3 separate regions of the Homo sapiens genome follow, and regions 2 and 3 are each linked to region 1. Evidence: promoter capture Hi-C in human tissues and cell types (Jung and others, 2019). All regions are on one chromosome and are shown on one strand. The core of a region is centred on a gene start or on the middle of the fragment in contact, and the rest is flanking DNA. Distances in the headings are between cores, read along the strand shown. Region 1 holds the start of ZNF34 (zinc finger protein 34). Region 2 overlaps ADCK5 (aarF domain containing kinase 5). Region 3 holds the start of C8orf33 (chromosome 8 open reading frame 33).

The links. Contacts are between HindIII fragments. The study calls those that stand out against the background at their distance.
Region 2: a fragment that was not itself captured here is called in contact with the fragment with the promoter of ZNF34 in region 1 in 2 of the 25 tissues and cell types used here (lymphoblastoid cells and spleen).
Region 3: the fragment with the promoter of C8orf33 here is called in contact with the fragment with the promoter of ZNF34 in region 1 in 3 of the 25 tissues and cell types used here (aorta, lymphoblastoid cells and small bowel).

The regions. Positions count from the first base shown.
Region 1 is chr8:144,784,851-144,789,175 of GRCh38, reverse strand. ZNF34 (zinc finger protein 34) reads left to right here and starts at 1,859. Exons shown (of 6, transcript NM_001286769.2): 1 at 1,859-1,897. It also overlaps the pseudogene RN7SL395P. RefSeq lists enhancers at 1,291-1,350, 1,391-1,620 and a silencer at 1,771-2,130. The HindIII fragment of the contact is 13,629 bases long and covers 1-4,325 here.
Region 2 is chr8:144,388,311-144,392,635 of GRCh38, reverse strand. It overlaps ADCK5 (aarF domain containing kinase 5), which reads right to left. Exons shown (of 15, transcript NM_174922.5): 4 at 1,890-1,965; 5 at 1,580-1,780; 6 at 1,362-1,502; 7 at 1,162-1,275; 8 at 925-1,056; 9 at 770-853; 10 at 614-695; 11 at 466-544; 12 at 291-382; 13 at 1-191. Among named protein-coding and RNA genes, the nearest start is that of MIR939, 3.8 kb to the left of the region's middle. RefSeq lists an enhancer at 3,686-4,187. The HindIII fragment of the contact is 8,607 bases long and covers 1-4,325 here.
Region 3 is chr8:145,050,454-145,054,778 of GRCh38, reverse strand. C8orf33 (chromosome 8 open reading frame 33) reads right to left here and starts at 2,312. Exons shown (of 5, transcript NM_023080.3): 1 at 2,282-2,312; 2 at 1,882-2,193; 3 at 1,633-1,717; 4 at 1,336-1,482; 5 at 1-761. The coding sequence starts at 2,287. The coding sequence ends at 622. RefSeq lists enhancers at 938-1,738, 2,667-2,716, 2,757-2,886 and a silencer at 2,387-2,456. The HindIII fragment of the contact is 15,142 bases long and covers 1-4,325 here.

The sequences.
Region 1 (4,325 bases), core at 610-3,109:
ATTCTGTTCTGCATGCATTCCCACCCCGCCATGGTGGGGAGTGGTCACTGACTGGAGGGTTCTGGGTGCTTTTTCCTGTGGGTGGTGGGTGGGGCCTCATGCCTTTCCTCATTTTCTAGCCTGATAGTGACAGGTGAGGTTGAGGGTGGTGATTGAGTGTGGGGTCCCAGGTCACTGCTGGGATTGCTGAACAAAGGGATGAATGCATGCAGTGTGTGTATGGGGAATCCCAGACCACCCAAGTCCCTTCACCCACCCACCCAGAGCCCTACACTGGACTGGAGCTGGCACCAGCAGTAGGTTGGTCTGCTCCTTGAGTCCTGTAACTCCACAGCTTCGCAGGGCATGTAGCCCCCTCTTCCCTGGGGCAGAGAAACTAACCAGGAACAGCCCCCAAAGCTGCATTGATTACCTTAAAGCACATGGCCTTTCCCTGCTGGCAGGGGCTGATACTTTGGTTCTCTCTAGCTTTGGTAGTGATGAGGCTGACAGTGATGATTGAGTGGAATCAGGTTGGAAGTGTTGGGGAACCCCCCCTGCAATGGGAGGGCAAGTAAGCTGGTTTCCGTCACAAGGCAGAGTGGAGGGGCTTCCTGTTTGGCCATAGCCCATGGCATCTTGTCCCTTAACCATGATCCAATGAGGAGATCCCAGGACAGCATCCTATCAGCACTTTCACACGAGGAAGTTCCACCAGCGAATGCAGCAGCTGCAGATCACTGCCCCTAACAACACTCCTGTGGAACTGCAGCAGGCAGGATGAGGCACGGTCTCTCCCTATAGACTTGGTTGGAGGGTGCCTGGCAGGTGAGAATAGTCACCTTAGGCTTCCGTGGTCACTCCGGGATGACAAGTCCTAACTGGCTGCGCGGTGGTTCCTGGCTGTCATGGTCCACGCTGTCTCTAGAGAACCTTACCCCCCATTTCGTGATCTTGCTTTCCTGATCCTGCTGGTATGGCCCCACCTGTCTTTGGGCGCCCACCACACCTAGGCAGTGACCCAGCAGGGCCTGTTTATTTTAGACAGGCTCTCGCTATTGCCAGGCTGGTCTCAAGCCCCTGGCCTCATGTGGTCCTCCCACTCCAGCCCCGCCTCCCCGCCAGTAACTACGGGACCTGGTTTTGATCTCGTCATTCGCAGGGCCGGTCCCAGGGTCCCAGCTGACTTGTCGAGAAAGAATCCAGGAGGGCGGTGTTTCCTCCTGAAGGATGGAGGGGCATCTGGAAAGAGGGTTTTGGGAAAGCACTAGATGCTTAGCTTGGCCATAAGCGGTCACTGTTTTTCTGCTCCCTTCTGGGCAAAGTGGACGGCAGGGCTTGGCCGATGGACCGGCCATGAGGGAAAGTTTGTTCCAGAAGCAGCTCAGGCACCCGAAAAACCCTTTCTCCAGAGTGGACACTGGGCCCCATTTACAGGAGTTAAGGATGAGGAGCAATAGGTTAAACCCAAGACAGGCTTCTTTGGCCAGTAAGCATCCTTTCTTGGCCCTAAGGAAGGGTGCGGTTCCCGTTTCTCTGTAAATCGAAGGGCCTAGTTCTTGTTTGCGGCGCCTTTCGTGCATCATTAGGGAGAGAATTTCTCAGAAAAAGGGAAAGACTAATATGTTTTCGCCTCTGACCATCGCCCCAGTTCTGAGGCCTCTGGGCCGTGGCTTCGGACTGCCACCCGGTGGCAGCATTCCCGCTTTACGGCTTTGCCATTCGCGGGTCCCCGGAGCCTTACTGCAAGCCAGGGAGGTGGGCAGCCGACACGCGGCGTCCTAGCTTCCCAGAGCGGCCCGGACGGCGCCTCGGACCCAGACAGTCGGCTGACGTCACTTCCGGATCGGTTCCGATTGGCGGGGAGGGAGGGCCGAACGGGCGAGGTTGGGCTGCCGTGCTGCTCGGCGGCGCTGAGGTGAGTGTGAGCCCGGCGGGGGCGGGCGCGCGGGGCGCAGACCCTCCCGGCGCAGACCCTCCCCTGCGCGTTGCCCCTGTGCCCGGTCCTCTCGCGGTGCTGCAGGCGTGGGTCCGTCCCGCCATCAGCGGCACTTCCTGTTCGAGGGACCCCCCGGACAAGGCCCCGAGTACGGACTGCGCCTCGCCGCTCTCTGCCAGCCCTGGGGTCGCTCCTCACGGGGCTCCTTCCGCTCTCGAGCCCCTGACAACTCCCTTGCCCCACGCGGGGTCCCCTGGACTCCTGCCGCACAGAGCGGCTTCTGCGTCCCGATGCGCTCCAGACCCCTTGGTCCCAGCGGCCCGAGGCTTCCCATCCCGGCTCCCTCCCACGCTCCTCTCCTGTCAGCTTTTCAGGGGCGGGGCTCGTGCGTCTCGCGGTCCTCCCAGCCCTCTGCGAATGCCGCCCCTCCTGCCTTTAGCGTCCGCGCTCCGCCAGTGCTCCTCCCTCTGCTTGTGCCTTCCCTCCGCCCCACCCTCCTCGCTTCTGGCGCTCCAAGGCTTTTCTCCCCGCAGCCAGGCAGCCAGATTTTTGTTTCTCTTCTTTATTTTTTCTTTCTTTTCTTTTCTCTTCTCTTCCTTCTTTCCTTTCTCTCTCTCTTTTTCTGAGACGGAGTCTCGCTCTGTCGCCCAGGCTGGAGTACGATGGCGCGATCTCGGCTCAATGCACCTTCCGCCTCCCGAGTTCAAGGGATTCTCCTGTCTCAGCCTCCCGAATACCTGGGATTACAGGCGCCCGCCACCATGCCCAGCTAATTTTTGTATTTTTAGTAGAGATGGGGTTTAACCATGTTGGCCAGGCTGGTCTCGAACTCCTGACCTCAAGTGATCTGCCCGCCCCAGCCTCCCAGAGTGCTGGGAATACAGGCGTGAGCCACTGCGCCCGGCCTCGTTTTCTTATATCTCTACAAACCTAATACTGTTTTTGTCTCTTAAAAATCTACATATGTATGGCAGAGCACGGTGGCTCACGCCTGCAATCCCAGCACTTTGGGAGGCCAAGGCGCGGGGGGGATCACTAGGTCTGGAGATCGAGACCATCCTGGCTAACCCAGTGAAACCCCGTCTCTACTAAAAAATACAAAAAAATTAGCCGGGCGTGGTAGCGGGCGCCTGTAGTCCCAGCTACTTGGGAGGCTGAGGCAGGAGAATGACGTCAACTCGGGAGGCGGAGCTTGCAGTGAGCCAAGATCCCGCCACTGCTCTCCAGCCTGGGTGATGGAGCAAGACTCCGTCTCAAAAAAAAAAAAAAAAAAAAAAACTACCTATGTATTATACTGTGTATATTCTGTACCTGACAGTTTTTCTCAGCCTTATAACTGTGCTCTATCTCCTTGACATTACTTTCCACCACTCTGACTTTGCTGATGGACGCTGAAGTTTTTTCTTCTTCTACACAGGCACATGGTAACATTTTTGTGTTTCTTTTTGTGTGCATTAGCAAGAGTCTCCATAAAGTACATACTTCGAGTGGGGTTTCCCCACTGAGAGTTTTGCAGGGTTTCAGTTCTACCAGGTAGGGCCAGACATATTTCTAGAGTGTCTACCAGTTTACAGTGTTCTGAACATTTGGTATTATGAAGTATTTTATATTTCCCCAATCTGTGGGGAGAGTCTTGTTTTACTTTACATTTTTTCTTAATTAAAAAATTAGAGATGGGGTTCTCACTATGTTGCTCAGGCTAGAGTGCAGTGGCCACTCGCAGGCGTGATCCCACTACTGATCAGCACAGGAGTTTTGACCTGCCCTGTTTCCCACCTGAGCTGATTCACCCTTCCTTAGGCAATATGGTGGTCTCCTGCTCCCCGGATGTCACCATATTGATGCCGAACTTAGTGGGGACACCCAATTGGCACAGCAGCACTACAGCCCAGAACTCCTAGATTCAAGTGATCCTCCTGCCTCAGCCTTCTGAGTAGCTGGGACTACAGGGTTTGCCAGGTCATATCCTGTGTTCATTTATTAAAAATTGTGACATTTTTCTAATTTAAAAATGTTTTAAATATATTCTGTATATTTATACTTTGTTATGTGTCTGCAAATATCTTTCACTCTGCAGCTTGTCTGCTTGCCTTTTATCTTTGTGGTGTCTTGTACAGAATCCTTTTTCTTTTTTTTTTTTTTTTTTTTTTTGGCAGGGTCTGGCTAAGGCTGGAGTGCAGTGACACCATCTTGGCTCCCTGCAGCCTCCATCTCCCACTCTCAAACGATTCTTCTACCTCAGCCACCTGAGGTTTTGACTGGAACCACAGGCTCACACCACCACGTTGGCTAATTTTTGTAGAGCTGGGGTTTCACCATGTTACCCAGGCTGGTTTCCTACTCCTGAGCTCAAGCAATCTGGCCACCTCGGCCTCCCAAAGCACTGAGATTACAGGTGTGAGCTACC
Region 2 (4,325 bases), core at 1,356-3,855, 400 kb after region 1:
GGTGTTGATGTTGCGCAGCACCAGCAGCATGGGCCGCGGCAGCTCCCTGAGCACCGCCATGACGGCCTCGAAGCGCTCGCGGGCCATGTCCACCATGTAGGCCGCCTCTTCGCGGCTCAGTAGGTGCGAGCCCCACAGCTGCCCCAGGCGCACGGGGCGCTGCATGAGCATCTCGGCGAACAGGAGGTAGTCTGGGGAGGGAGGGAGGGAGGGAGGGAGGGGGCTCTGAGTGGGTTCCGCGCCGCCCGACTCCCTTCTGTGGTGCCCCAGCCATCCCCGCACGCCCTCACCTTGCACCCCCAGTGCGGCTGCGTGCGCCCTCATGGCGGCGTCGTCCCGCAGGATGATGGCCCGCCACAGCTGGCAGAGGGCTGCGCGGTCCCTGGGTGTGGATGGGCCCGCAGCCATGAGCTCCCTGCGGCAGGAGAGGCTTGCCCTGCCCCACGCCCACCCACCCGCGCTCACTTCTCCTCCAGGAACTGGTAGAGCCCGTGGTCCAGCAGCACCAGCTCCGCTTTCCCGTCCGGGCCTTTCCGCACCAGAACTAGGGATACAGCCTCTTAGGTCGCGCTGCGCCCACCCTGAGACCCCCACCCCTGGGGTAAATTCCTACCGTTGCCAGGATGTGGGTCCGAGTGGATGAAGCCGGTGTAAAATATCTGCTCAGCAAAGGCCTTGATGAGCTTTTCTGCTATCTGGGGAGAGGAGAGGCATTGCAGTGGACACAGCACCAGCCCGCCCTGACCCGCCCCCGCCCCCCCGCACTCACGTCATGCACTGCCAGCCCCTGGCTCCTGATGGCCTCCACATCGTTGACCTTGCAGCCGGCGCAGAAGTCGGCAGTGAGCACGCGCTGGGGAGAGCAAGAGGCTGGGCTCAGCAGGCCCAGCGCTGTGCCCACCCCAAGGGCCTGGCCCAGCCCACCTTGCTGGACTTGTCCCAGTGCACGCGGGGCACCACGACGTAGGGGAAGTGCGCCAGCTCCCGCGCACAGCGCTCTGCGTTGCGGCCCTCATTCTCGAAGTCCAGCTCCTGGGCCAGGGTCCCCTTCAGGTCCTGGGGGCCAGATGGCGGTTGAAGACCAGCTCTGCCTACCAGCTGCTCCTACCAGCTCTGCCTACGTGTTTGCTCCTGCTGGCCGGGGAAGGGGTGGGGCTGTACCTGGAGGACCCAGCTGAAGCCAAAGCTGGGGTGCATGACCTCAACGAGCCGCAGCAGGAGCTCCAGGGTGTGGATGTCCCCATCAAAGCGGTCCCGCAGGTCGATGTACTGCACCTGCACTGGGCGAGGGTGTGGTGAGAACTTGGGGCCCCACTGTGCCCCGCCCCAGCCCACTGCTGAACAAGGCAGCCCCCATATACCTTCACAGCCACGCTGGTGCCATCGTGCAGCTTGGCTCTGTGCACCTGTGCCAGGCTGGCGGCAGCAATTGGCTGGTAGTCAAACTCCTGGAAGAGCTCGTGGGGGAGGGCCTGGAAGTCCTCAAGGAACAACTCATCCACCTGGAAGGACAGGTGCTCAGAGCAGCCTGGGGCCACTGCTGGAGGCCCCACCTCCCTCGGCCTGAGCGCACACTCACCTCCTGGAAGCCCCGCTTGAGGGCCCTGTCCTCTAGCACGCGCAGGGTCCGGGTATACTCGGGGGGAAGCAGGTGGTTGAAGGAGCACAGCCCCTGGCCCAGCTTCACGTAGAGGCCCCCGTTGCTGATGGCCCCTGCCACCAGGGCATCAGCCGCCCGCTGGTGACACGCAGACATCACCTCCAAGTAGCCTGGGCTGTTCTGACCACAGGCATGGGGAGAACACATGGGGACAGGTGGCTGCCTCCTCAGTCCCACCCAGCCCACCACCTCATGCCCACCACTGTGTGCCCAGGGCACCAGGACAAACCTCTTCCACCCCTCGAAGGACAACATTGGTGCACCACCAGTAGTCCAGGGAGATCTGCAGGCCGACCTTCAGAGACCTGCGGGCAGAGGTGGCCTCAGTCTCCAGCGGGGCAGGCTCGGGGCCCCGGTGCTTGGTCCTCTTGTCAGAGCCCTCATGGTCTAGCCTCACCCCGGCCAGCCCTTCATGTCCCAAGGGTGAGGCCAAGCCAGGGTCCAGCCTACAGCCGCGTAGGCCTGTGTGAGCACAAGGGGTGCTGCTGAGCTCGTGGGGTGTCCTGTGGCCCTGCAGGTCAGTCTCAGCTCAAGATCAGTAGAACGGGGCCAGGTGTGGTGGCTCATGTCAATTATCCCATCACATTGGGAGGCTGTGCTGGGAGGATCACTTGAGCTCAGGAGTTCGAGACTGGCCTGGGCAACATGTTGAAACCCTGTCTCTACCAAAAATGCAAAAAAATTAGGCAGGCACGGTGGTGCACACCTGTGGTCCCAGCTCCTCAGGAAGCTGAGGCAGGAGGATCGTTTGAGCCTAGGAGGTGGAGACTGCAGTAAGCTGAGATTGCACCACTGCACCCCAGCCTGGGCAACAGAGCGAGACTCCGTCCAAAAAAGATCTGCAGAGCTGGGCACAGTGGCTCACGCCTGTAATCCCAGCACTTTGGGAGGCCGAGGTGAGTGGATCACCAGAGGTCAGGAGTTCAAGACCAGCCTGGCCAACATGGTGAAACCCCATTTCTACTTAAAATACAAAAAAATTAGCCGGGTGTGGTGGTGCACACCTGTAATCCCAGCTACTCGGGAGACTGAGGCAGGAGAATTGCTTGAACCCGAGAGGCAGAGGTTGCAGTGAGCCAAGATCGCGCCATTGCACTCCAGCCTGGGCAACAAGAGCGAAACTCGGTTTCAAAAAAAAAAAAAAGAGGCTGGGCTTGGTAGCTCACACCTATGATCCCAGCACTTTGGGAGGCCGAGGCGGGCAGATCACAAAGTCAAGAGATTGAGGCCATCCTGACCAACATGGTGAAACCTAGTCTCTACTAAAAATACAAAAATTAGCTGGGCATGGTGGTGCGTGCCTGTAGTGCCAGCTACTCAGGAGGCTGAGGCAGGAGAATCACTTGAAGTCAGGAGGCGGGTTTCGGTGAGCTAAAATTGCGCCACTGCACTCCAGCCTGGCGACAGAGCGAGACTCCGTCTCAAAAAACAAAAAAAGATCTGCAGAATGGGCAGCCTGTGTCCATGCCACCCTCACTCCCTGCCACCCTCAAGGGTGCCCAGGTGAGATGGGGTAGGGGACAGTATGGACGGTGGCATCCTCTGGAGAGATGGGGTTCCAAGGCTGTCTGTGAAGGTAAAGGATGGCAGCAAGGGGGCAGGGCTGAGGCAGCAGAGGTCACAGGAGGGTCAAGGTCACCTGCAGCCTGAGGTCCACTAGGAAGAGAGGAGGACACCAGGAGGGTGGGTCTCCAAGGCCTGGGGAGGCAAGGTCTGCAGGGAAGAGAGCCCAGTTAAGGCAGGAAGTGGGGGACATCCTGGGTATCTGTTGAGCAGGTACTGGGCTCCTGGGGGAGATTTAGGCAAGAGGATGGGGTAGAGGGGTGTCCCCAGGCCTGGCCCCAGTTAGGAGGATATCAGGGTGGGAGCCCTGGGAGAACTCTGGGGACCAGCTGGGCAGCCCTGGAATGAGGCGCCAGGCAGCGGGCAGACCACACACAGGTGCACAGGGAGGGGCTGAGGTCAGAGTGGCTTCTCCAAGGCTGGCCATGGCCAGAGGCCTGTCCCTGCGTTCTGTGAAGCTCACGTACCTGCCTGGGGACAGGGCCCACAGTCATTCCTGAAGCGCAGCTCTGGCGCTCAGGTGGACTCTGTGTCCCCCATCAACCCAGGGCGACCCCCCGGCCATTCAGGCCCCACTCTGGCCCCCGTAGAGCATCTGGAGTGCGTGCTTGGGTTAGGCCAGGGTTTCGGTTTCTTTTTTTTTTTTTTTGGAGACGGAGTCTCGCTCTGTCGCCCAGGCTGGAGTGTGGTGGCGATCTTGGCTCACTGCAGGCTCCGCCTCCCAGGTTCACGCCGTTCTCCTGCCTCAGCCTCCAGAGTAGCTGGGACTACAGGCGCCCAACACCACGCCCGGCTAATTTTTTTGTATTTTTAGTAGAGATGGGGTTTCACCGTGTTGGCCAGGATGGTCTCGATCTCCCGACCTCGTGATCCGCCCACCTTGGCCTCCCAAAGTGCTGGGATTACAGGCGTGAGCCACCGTGCCCGGCTCTAACTTTTCTACTATTAAAATTTGTTATAGTAAACACAACACTTTTGTAACAAAACTTAAAGATGTGAAAAAGTCCCACAGACTTGTGCTTGGGGGAGAAGGAATTTAATTTTTTTTTTTTTTTTGAGATGGAATCTCGCTCTGTCGCCCAGACTGGAGTGCAGTGGCACA
Region 3 (4,325 bases), core at 1,063-3,562, 270 kb before region 1:
TGGCCTGGTAGGTGCCATGCTGGTTCCCTGAGGATGATACCTGCTCAGGAATGAAGGCAACATGCACAAAGGTACCAGGTGAGGGACTGGACCCAGGGATACCACACCCCTGCATCTTCTGTACTTCCTCTAACATAGGTGGTCAGCATACTCTTTCACTCCTTATCCAATTTTATCAAAAATAGAGATTAGGGCAATATGACATAACAGCATTAAGCACTAAACCATTTGACAGGGATTCCTTTCAAAAGTGAAAACCAGTGTACGATTATACAGCTTCTCCACTAATCTTTGTTACCAACAGCCACTTAATCTAATCCTAAAGACTGAGTACAATATTCCTTCTACAATACTTTGAACACTCACTTCAATTTATTGCATATTTTCTAAATGCACCTCTCTCTCTCTTCTGAAAGAGAGAACATTTCATCAGAAAACGAACGGGGTCTTTTGCCTATCTGATGGTCTCACACCTTCACAACAGCTACAAATCCTTGGACCAGCCAGGGACAGACCAACTCCAGGGTTCTCTGACAACAGAAGTCCTGGAAAGGCTCTGCACTCAAAACAAACCCCTACACCACCCCAAGGGAGGGGGATTGTTTCAGGTTCGGGGAGACGCTAAAAGAAATTGAACCTAAACTCTTCATCAGGCATGTCCAGAGTGGCTTTGGCTCTCCATATAGAGCGAGGCCTGCAGACCCTTTGGCTCTTCTTTCTGGTGGCTCCATCTACAGGTTGCACCTGGGCTGAATAAGCAGCTGTCGGGGAGAGAAGCAGCGTATGTCAGAACTGAATAATAACAATTAACATTACCTGTACAGTTATGTTTGCCCATACAATTCTAACCACCTTGCATAAATTAACTGATTAATTCCTCAAATTTGTAAGGTTGATATTACTATCATCCCCCACTTAGAGAGGTTCAGTAGTTTGCAAAAGGTGTTAGTACTACTATGTGGTAGATCCAGGATTTGAACCTAGCTGATCTGGCCCCAGGAATTGCACTCAAACTGTTATGGGATATGGCTTCATTGCTAGTAGAGAAAGCCAAGACACAAAGACATGAGGCAGCTTTCCCCAACCCAGGAGCAGGACCAACATAGGACCATGCTCTTTCCCACTCCTCCCAGGGCCTCCCCGCTGCTTCCCAGGTTCAGTCCTAGGAAGAGGAAAGAGAGGTCCACGCTTTCTGTTTCCCTGCTCCCTCAGGCTTCCCTGAGCCCATCTCCTTCCCCCACCAGGCTTGTTGCTCTGGGCCTTCTTCCTTTCACCCCCTAGACACTTCCTCCTTAAGTTAGGCCTTCCTGAATCAACCAGTGGCTAGCTCCTCACCAGCTCTGAGAGCCCGCAGGGCCTCACGCCATTCGGCTTCCATCTGAGCCCTATAGTCTCCAAACAAGGAGTGCATCAGCTGCCTCTTCCGGGGCAAGGGCGTTCTTTTGCTGCGCAGGGTTCGGATTGCTCCAATAGCCTGCTCTTCTGCGAATAAAAATAAAGGACTAGTGAACACCTCTATTACTGACCTCCTACCACCCCGCCGCAAAGCCAACAACTCCATACTCTGCCAGCACCTGCAGGCCAGGCAGTGCCACTGTTCACATCCCCCAGCTCTACAGAAGGGTCCCTTACTCTGTTTCGGGGTGGGTTTCTGCCTCTTGAGGCCCAGCTCCAGTTGCTCCACACACCAAGCCAATTCCTGGGCCAACTGTTGTGCCTGTGATGGATTTGGGGAAGTGGCTGTGAGAGGGCACTGGAAAACCATAGCCGCCGGCCCCATCCCATGCCCCTCCCCGCCTTAACTCCGCGGACCCCAGATCACACGTGCCCGTGGATTCGCACCCGTGGATTCCACCCTTCCCGACCGAAGCCCGCCCTTGCCTGGGCCTCAGCGCTTAGGGGAACTTCTTCTGGGGCGAGTTTCTCTGAGGCCTTCTCGCCTCCATTTGCCACAGAGGCCCTGTTCCGCGTTTTCTTCTTATTCTTTTGTTTTTTCGACGCTGTGCCGCCTTCATCGCCCAACGGGTGCGCTCTGGAGTCAGCGTTACTGCACGTAGGTTGCTCTGGGCAGAGACAGACAGTGGAAGGATTCCGGGCGCTGGAAACTGGGCCGGGAAGCCGGGCTCCGCGGGACGCGCAGGGAGTACCCGGGCCTGGGGCCGCCGCTGCCTCCCCAGCAAGATGTCCCAGGGCCTGGAGAAAGGGGGGTAGCACGAGGGTCACCGAGAGCCGCCAACAATGCAAGGCCCAGCCACCCGCGCGTCTTCTCCACACCGCTCACCGCCATGCGCCGCAGTCGCCACCGGAACTACGCGGGGCGCAGAGTCCGACGCCGAATTCCGTCCTTCAAGAACGCGCCTGCGACTCTAGGTTCCGCGGGGCGCGGGCGGGGCGCGGGCGGGGCGCGGGCGGGGCGCGGGCGGGGCGCGGGCGGGGCGCGGGCGGGGCGCGGGCGGGGCGCGGGCGGGGCGCGGGCGGGGCGCGGGCGGGGCGGGGCGCGGGCGGGGCGCGGGCGGGGCGGGGAGCGGGCGGGGCGGGGCGCGGCTGGGGTGGGATGAAGCTGGGACGGGGCGAAGCTGGGACGCGCCTGGGACGAAGCTGAGATGGGGCTGGGGCGGGGCCTGGGGGTTCGGGGAAGAGGCTGAAGAGGGGTCTCGGAAGAACCCTTGTGAGCGAGTGATCGCGGGCGCTGACTACGTGCCCGGCACCTTTCCGGATAAAAGTTCAAAGCTCTCCACGAGGGTGTGTCTTCTCAAGGCTCACCTTTTGGTGGGGAGGGAAAAGCAAGTAAACAGCACGTGAGCAGCTACGGCGCAAGAGGGTGGTCGGCAAAGACCCTGGGAAATGGGGAAGAGCGAGGGTCAGGGCGCGGTCGTTTGAGAGGCCGGCGTCTCGGGACGTGGAGGCTCGGGTGAGGTCTGAGAGTTGGGAGGGCCCCCGTCATGGGCTTACTTCCGTTCTAACGCAGTGGGAAGTCGCTGCAAGATGTAAATCTGAAGAGTGGCATAATCGTAGACGTATGTTCTGCAGATCTCTCTGCTCTTGTGTAACGAGTGGGGCACATGGGGTGGAGGGACGTGGAGGGGTTTCAGAAGCAGACGCGGGAAGAGCCTTGGACAGGATATGGACGTGAGGGAGGGTGGCGGTATGGGGGAGAGGGAGAGCCCCATCCCACCACCTCTCTTCCCCTGGATGCTTCCCTCCCACTATACCTTGCTAGAGACCTGGGGTCACACACAACACTCGACCCCCGCCGATGGAGGCATGACAACCGAGAGGAATTGCGTAGGGGTTGAGGTGAGGCTGAGTAGGGTTTCAGGGGGGCAACGGGCTATGCCAGGAGGGTGGGTTGTGTTGCTTGAGAAGGTAAGAGTCCGAGATGTCTGATGATTCCTTTCGGGGACACAGGAGTGGAAAGCGGTGTTTCCTGAGACGGTGGGGTGGGAAGTGTTAGCTGCCTGGTCTGCAAGGTCTCGAAGGGTTACAGTTTGGTCATCACTGATAGTTATTTACTGCAGTGTGATACATTACTCCCAAAATTCGGCGGATTGGCCGGGCGCGGTGACTCACGCCTGTAATCCCAACACTTTGGGAGGCCGATGCGGGCGGATCACGAGGTTAGGAGTTTGAGACCATCCTGGCTAACATAGTGAAACCCCGTCTCTACTAAAAAATACCAAAAAATTAGCCGGGCATAGTGGCGGGCACTTGTAGTCCCAGCTACTCGGGAGGCTGAGGCAGGAGAATGGCATGAACCCGGGAGGTGGAGCTTGCAGTGAGCCAAGATCGCACCGCTGCACTACAGCCTGGGTGACAGAGCGAGACTCCATCTAAAAAAAAAAAAAAAAAAAAAACACGCAGAATTTAAACGGGACACGCAGTAAAGGAGATGCGGCATACAGTAATTTATTACAAAGGAGAAAGAATATTTGGAAAGTTAAGTGAACAATAGACAGTACACCCTGAGAGAGAGAGAGAGGATTGAGGGCCAGCTGCTCATAAGGTTGGGGCAGCAAAGACGCATGAGGGAGACTCCCTTTATGGGGGTCTTACATGATTATTCATAAGGAATTGGGAAGAGGTGCTACTAGTGAGTATGTTCTGGATGGTCCTCTGAGTGCACATGTGCGGTAGCTGTATGTTCTTACATGCTTGTTCATACAATGCTTCTTGTCATACAATGCTTGTTCTACATGCTGGTATATGATTGTTCGTACATGTCACATGTCTTATTAGCATCTTAAACCTCCAACCAGGGCTCTGTTTTTTACTATTATAATGAGCGAAAGGTCAGTCTGAGGACAGGTAAAATCAAAATGTACATG